Regions from separate parts of the Homo sapiens genome. Here region 1 is linked to region 2. The links are contacts of gene promoters, found by promoter capture Hi-C in human tissues and cell types (Jung and others, 2019). All regions are on one chromosome and are shown on one strand. The core of a region is centred on a gene start or on the middle of the fragment in contact, and the rest is flanking DNA. Distances in the headings are between cores, read along the strand shown. Region 1 overlaps STX7 (syntaxin 7). Region 2 holds the start of ENPP1 (ectonucleotide pyrophosphatase/phosphodiesterase 1).

What was found. Contacts are between HindIII fragments. The study calls those that stand out against the background at their distance.
Region 1: a fragment that was not itself captured here is called in contact with the fragment with the promoter of ENPP1 in region 2 in 1 of the 25 tissues and cell types used here (IMR-90 fibroblasts).

Annotation. Positions count from the first base shown.
Region 1 is chr6:132,503,226-132,506,362 of GRCh38, reverse strand. STX7 (syntaxin 7) reads left to right here. Exons shown (of 10, transcript NM_003569.3): 2 at 2,775-2,917. The coding sequence starts at 2,833. Among named protein-coding and RNA genes, the nearest start is that of STX7, 8.3 kb to the left of the region's middle. The HindIII fragment of the contact is 6,888 bases long and covers 1-3,137 here.
Region 2 is chr6:131,806,527-131,809,575 of GRCh38, reverse strand. It overlaps ENPP1 (ectonucleotide pyrophosphatase/phosphodiesterase 1), which reads right to left and starts at 1,556. Exons shown (of 25, transcript NM_006208.3): 1 at 1,301-1,556. The coding sequence starts at 1,540. The HindIII fragment of the contact is 10,154 bases long and covers 1-3,049 here.

The sequences.
Region 1 (3,137 bases), core at 511-3,010, 700 kb before region 2:
AATCTCGTTGGATGTGTAGTTTGCAGATATTTTTCTCCCATTCTGCAGGTTGTCTGTTCATTCTGTTTATTATTTCTTTTGCTGTGCAAAAGCTTTTTAGTTTAATTAAATCTCATTTTGTCTGTTTTTTGTCTTGTTGCCTGTGCTTTTGAGGTCTTAGTCATAAATTCTTTTCCTAAACCAATGTCCAGAAGAGTTTTCCCTATATTTTCTTTTAGTATTTTAATCGTTTTAGGTATTACTTTTAAGTCTTTAATCCATCTTGAGTCGATTTTTTTTTTTATATGTTGACAGATAAGGGTCCAGTTTCACTCTTCCGCATGGGGCGATCCAATTTTCCCAGCACCATGTATTGAAAAGGGCGTCCTTTCCTCAGTGTATGTTTTTGTCAACTTTGTCAAAAAGATCAATTGACTGTAGATATGTGACTTTACTTCTGACTTCTCTATTCCATTCCATTGTTCTATGTGTCTGTTTTTATATGAATATCATGCTGTTTTAGTTACTATACCCTTTTAGTATAATTTGAGGTCAGGCAATGAGATGCCTCCAGCTTTGTTCTTTTTCTTAAAATTGCTTTGGCTATTCAAAACCTGTGTTTTTTTTTTTTTTTTTTTTTTTTTAAGTGACTTGGAGATGCATTTAAAATTGCATGGTTTCAAGGATGTTCCGGATGGTGTTGGTGTCATTGAATCCCCATGTCTACTCTTGTTCTGTCTGGGCCCAAGTCCAAGGCTACCTGGAAGGAAGTTTATTCCTGTCTCCCCACTGTAGTGGTCCAGCTGTCTGACTTTAGGTTTGAATTTACCCTTTAATGAAATTGCTTTTGGATCCATCTCTAGGATTTGGTGAGACCCAGAGAGCCCAGAATAGATCAGCTGTACCTGAGAGGGAAGTTGGAGAATATCTAAAAGCCACCAGGACTTTCAGCGTGGCCAGGCACATTCAAAGTGCACCAGAGTTCCAGGCATAGAACCAGTACTGTTCTAATGGTCTCAACAGTTCAGCTGTTGTACTTCCTGCCAACACTGTCCCTTAGAGCAAAGACACATACTTCACTGTGGCTTCTTCTCTACCAGAAATCTTCTGTGGCATTAGTTCTATGTGGTAGCAAGCATGGATAGCCTTGGCATCAGAACCCTGGGACTGAATCTCACCTCCACCTGTGGGTGGGTTGGGTTACCATTACTTAATCATAATAAGCCCGCTGTTTGCTCATCATTAAAACAAGAATAATGCCACTTAATTGAAGGAGGTTGTGAAAAAATTAGTCTGTGAAATACTTTTTGTGTCGCAGATGTGCGAGAAATGTTAGGCCATTCCTCTCTTTCCCTTTATGTTGTTTTCCCCTTGTCCCAGCTGTGAATCATCTGATCCAGGGTTGGCCAGGAACCTTCCCTTCCTTTTGTAAATACCATACTGCATGTGGCCTTTCCACGTGCTCTGGGTCTCTCCACCCCAGCCTTCACGTCCTTGCCTTTGTTGTTCTGCATACTGGTCATAACCAAGCATCCAAATCCTATGTTTCTATTTCATAAATTCTTTCCAGACAAGGATGATGGTCATTTTTTCTTTTTGTAGCCCTTCTCATTTTAGCCTAGCACGTGATCTTTTATGGATTTGTGGGGTTTTTTGTTGGTTTGCATTATTAACTTTATCCTTCCTCCTAAATGACAAACTTGATTTGAGCAGATACTGTGTCAGTGTGTTTTGTTTTGTTTGCATCTCCCAGGTGCTTAGTTTAATGCTGGGCATGTACCAGGCTCTTAGTAGAGAGCTAGCTTACAAATTGACCACCAACAATTTTGCAGTATTCCAGTGCATATTCATGGAAAAGATGGGGTGGCGGTAGTTGAAATTCTTTGCTGTGCGCAGTTCTGTATGCAGGGACATTCCTTTTCAACCTTCTTTCCAAACCCTGATTGGAGTGGTGTGGATTGAAGAGGTAGAGAATGTCATCTCACCTGCCTCCTGTGGCAGTATCTCAGTGTCTCTTCTATTCTGAGATGCTGGCTGCTGAAAGGGGAGAGTCATTCGTTCTCCTTCCTCTGTCAGGAAGGTTTGATAAACATTTTATATGACATTTGCTTCGCAGTAGTTGGCTCTGCTATTTCAGATTTAACCTTTTCCATTAAAATTAGAGCCCTATTAATCATACATTCCTGAGCAGGTCCTGTGTGTGTGTTAAATTAGATATTAAGGTTGGTACAAAAGTAATTGCCATTTTTACCATTACTTTTAATGGCAAAAACCACAATTAAAAGTAATGGTAAAAACTGCAATTACTTTTGCACAACCTAATACAGTGAAATTTCTGGGGATAGCCTGAAGTCTGTGTTCCATTTAATAAATATTTAAATGCCTGTTTGTGCTAAGAGTTGTTTTAAATATTGGAGAAAGATAAATAAGCATGTGGGCCCTGCCTTATAATTGTTTGGAGTTTAGTTAAGGAAAAAATATGTAAACAACTAAAATTATATACAGGTAAGGGATTTAATAATTTTTCTTGAAGAGATCAAAGACGTTTTCAAAGGAAATATGCAATTTGAACCTTATTTTAATTGTTTGATGTGTTTAACATGACTCTGTCCTTTGAAGTCCAGTTTTTTTTTTTTTAGTAGACATGAGAGTTTTGCTATTTGATGTGTCACTTTGCCAGATTTCAACTCTATTAGATTAATCAAGTTTGTCCTTGTAACTTCACAGATTGTTAATTTGGAAAATGTAAGCCAGTAACTTAAAAAATATATCTGTGTGACTTTTATATTATTTAGGTGACTGCTTAGAAAACTGCACAGCATCTGATGAAATTAGCGAATAAGAACATCAACCATGTCTTACACTCCAGGAGTTGGTGGTGACCCCGCCCAGTTGGCCCAGAGGATCTCTTCTAACATCCAGAAGATCACACAGTGTTGTGAGTTGAGTTTTAAATGGACTTCACTATTTGTATCCACTCTTAACTGAACTTGGTGGAGGTTCATAAAAGGACAACTCTGCTGATTGAGAGAGGGAGGAGCATTCCTCTAACAACAGGTTTTAAAGGGCTCGAACTCTTTAGAATGAATGCAAGAGAATTATATTTGAGATAACACTTACTGCATTTTTCTATAGGAAGTCAGGGCCAGGCACATAAT
Region 2 (3,049 bases), core at 307-2,806:
AGGTGACTCAAGAGACTAAGTTCTCATCAATATTGTGTTATTATAGACTCAAAACAGTGTTACAAGATGCAAAATTTTATCTTGAGATGCAAACATCATGTGGCTTGGGGTACTTATTCTGTGAAACTAAGGCTTCTTTTTAAGTACTAAGCATACGGCACCATCTCTTAAGTCTAGGAAGATTGATTCCTCAAAGTATTATAGCATCTCCATGATGTCCCAAATATAGTGAAAATGGAAATGCATACAAAATGAAAGGAGACTTGAAAAATTAGAAATTTTTCTACAAAGCATTATTCAATCATATGTAAGGGGATATATTTTAGGGTACACTATACATAGAAATCTGTGATTTCCATATAATACAATAAAAATGATTCTATTTCCTTGCTGTTTTCAATTTACTTCCCTACCTACATTCTTCAGCTTGATTTTCACAATAATCCCATGCAATGCACAAGGGAGTTGATGTTGTCCCATTTTCACACATTAGAAATTGAGGTTTAGGGACAGTTACGCAAGGCCTCAGCAAATAATAACAGCCAGGAATCCAGGCCTTCTCTCAATCAGCACTTCCCACCATGAATTCAGAATAAAAACCAACCCCCACATTTCATGAAGTTGACTGTGGGTCCTGCAAATGTCATAGCAAAATAGCAGAGGAGTAATAGGTAGCTTTTGTTAGCAACACAAACCGTGTAGCCTCTGGTTAGAAGAGTGGGCAAAGAATCATAAAGGTTTCTTCAGTCACATAATGTGAACATCCATGGAATTTCTGAGCACCTGCAAGGAAATTCCAAAACGGAGCGAAAGGGAAAAAGTGTTCCGTAGAGTTCCTAATAAAACTTAAAGAGCTCCGCTAACTCTTCAACTGCAATCAGTTAACCCAAGTGAAGTCATGTATACTGCGCCCAGAGCCCCCTAAAAGAAGCAACACATTGATGCACCTTCTTAAGACCAACAACTTTCGCGTTTGACATTTTTCTCCTCTAAAAACCCGTACTCTCCTGGGGCAGGGGGTCGAGTATTTCTAAGGATGACCGTTTTGAACAGCCTGCTTTCACAGGCATCCATAATTCAAGTGAGAGTGAACCATCCTGCCCTGGCAAGGTACCTGGCAGGGGCGGCTGTGTAGGGCACTTGCAAAGGCTGCGGAGGAGAGCGCGCGGGCGAAGAAGCACTCCCGGACCATGCCTCTCTCCGGTGCCCGGTGCTGACTGCGCTGAGAGCGCAGGAGCTCGGCGCCGCCCTCCCCGTACTCCCAGCCCTCCCGGGCGCCGGGGCCTGGCCGCGGACCTACCAGCGAGAGTACTTTATAGGTGTTGGGGTCCTTGGCAGTGCGGGCGCGCGCCGCCTTCTCCAGCGGCTCCTCCCCCACGTCCATAGGGGCCAGCAAGGACGCGGCCGCCTGCGGGTCCCCGGGCGCCTCGGCAGCGTGGCTGCGGCCCCGATCGCGGCCGTTCCCCGCCGGGCCCTCCCGGGGAGCGCGCCCGCCCTCGCCGCCGCGGCTCCCGCCCCCCGCGCAGCCGTCGCGCTCCATCGTGGCCCCGGCCGCTCCGGCCCCGCTGCCCGGCCGCGCCTTTAATAGGCCCCGCGCCGCCCGCCCCGCCCCGCCCCTCCCCGCCGCGCCCGCCCCTCGCGGTCAGATCCTTGGCTCCCCGCCCTACACCCGGCTCTCGCAGTCAGGGCAAAGCGACTCAACGCCCCGGATTATTTGGCTTCCTGTCTGATTTCGGGCACTCTGTGTGTCGGTTATTTTGGGTCCCTTACGTGGGCGTGTCTTAAACTTCCCCCCAAGCCGTCCCCTCCCCGCGCCCCGGCCACCCTCCCGACACTTGCAGGAATCGCCCTGCGTGGCCTCGCGGCGCGGGCTGGGCTGGAATTGCAGCGTGTGGTCTGCAGAGGGCATGAGATCATGGGGCCCCAAAATAGAGCGGGGAGGAGGAGAAGGATGCAGCCGCCGATGCCGGTCCGGCTTCTCAAAGGCGGGAGAGAGTGGAGTCTTGGGGTCGACCTGTGAGTTTCTGGATGGAAATGCAAATGAACCATGGAGGAAGGCGACTTTCTGTTTCTCCCCCTCTGCGCCCCGTCCCCCACTACCTACGGTACTCTGAGAGAGAAATCGTCCACTTAAAATACGTGGGTTCACATGTACTGAACACACGTAAGGGATATTTCGATTCCCACGGTTTTATGTGGTTTCTGGAGTCTTCTCGCTATTGTTTGTATGTATATTTGCTTATTTTTCTAGACTTTCTGTATTGAAGGTTTCAGGAGTTGGCGTTGCCCTCTCCTGAGGTTGACACTGATACCTAGCTATATCAAAAGTGTTAATGCAATCTGAAATACTTTGATAAGCCTTATTTTTCAACTAGGACGCTAACAGTGAGCTGATTCTTGGTGGGTTTTGTTTTACCTTTGATTCTGGAACTTGTACATTTTCTGGCTCATCACTTAGCAAAATCACCAGTGTGTAGTGAAGTGAGACAGAGGGAAACCAGTGACTTCGAACTACTTTGCAATACCCAGGACTGACTTCAGGTACCAAGGAAAACAATTAATTTTCAATACATTTTGAATACATGAATATATACAAGTGTTTACAAATGAGAATGAATGTTTAACAAATATAAAATGCATGTTATCCCTTTAAAATAGTCAACTTGGGATGCTCTTCATTTATACTGACTCATCCATCCACCCATCCATTTATTCATCAAGTAATGAATCCTTCAACTCAATCTTTTGGCCTCCAACTATGCATACCATATAAAAAATGAATTAAAATGTATCTTTCCTTAAGTGTGGTGGAAGCGGGGGTGGGGGGGTAGGACCAACTCGTAAACAAAATAATTAAAACCTAAGTCATATATGCAGAATAGAGTCACACATAGGATATTGATACAGGAGATAGAAATTATTTAGGCAGATAGTATGAGCAAAAGAGCCCTCGGCAGAACTTACCTTCTAACAAAAAGCAGCCCAAGAAATCACTTCCTTTCTAACAAAGAGCAACCTGGAAGATTGGGCTGCAAACATAGGTAAGGAA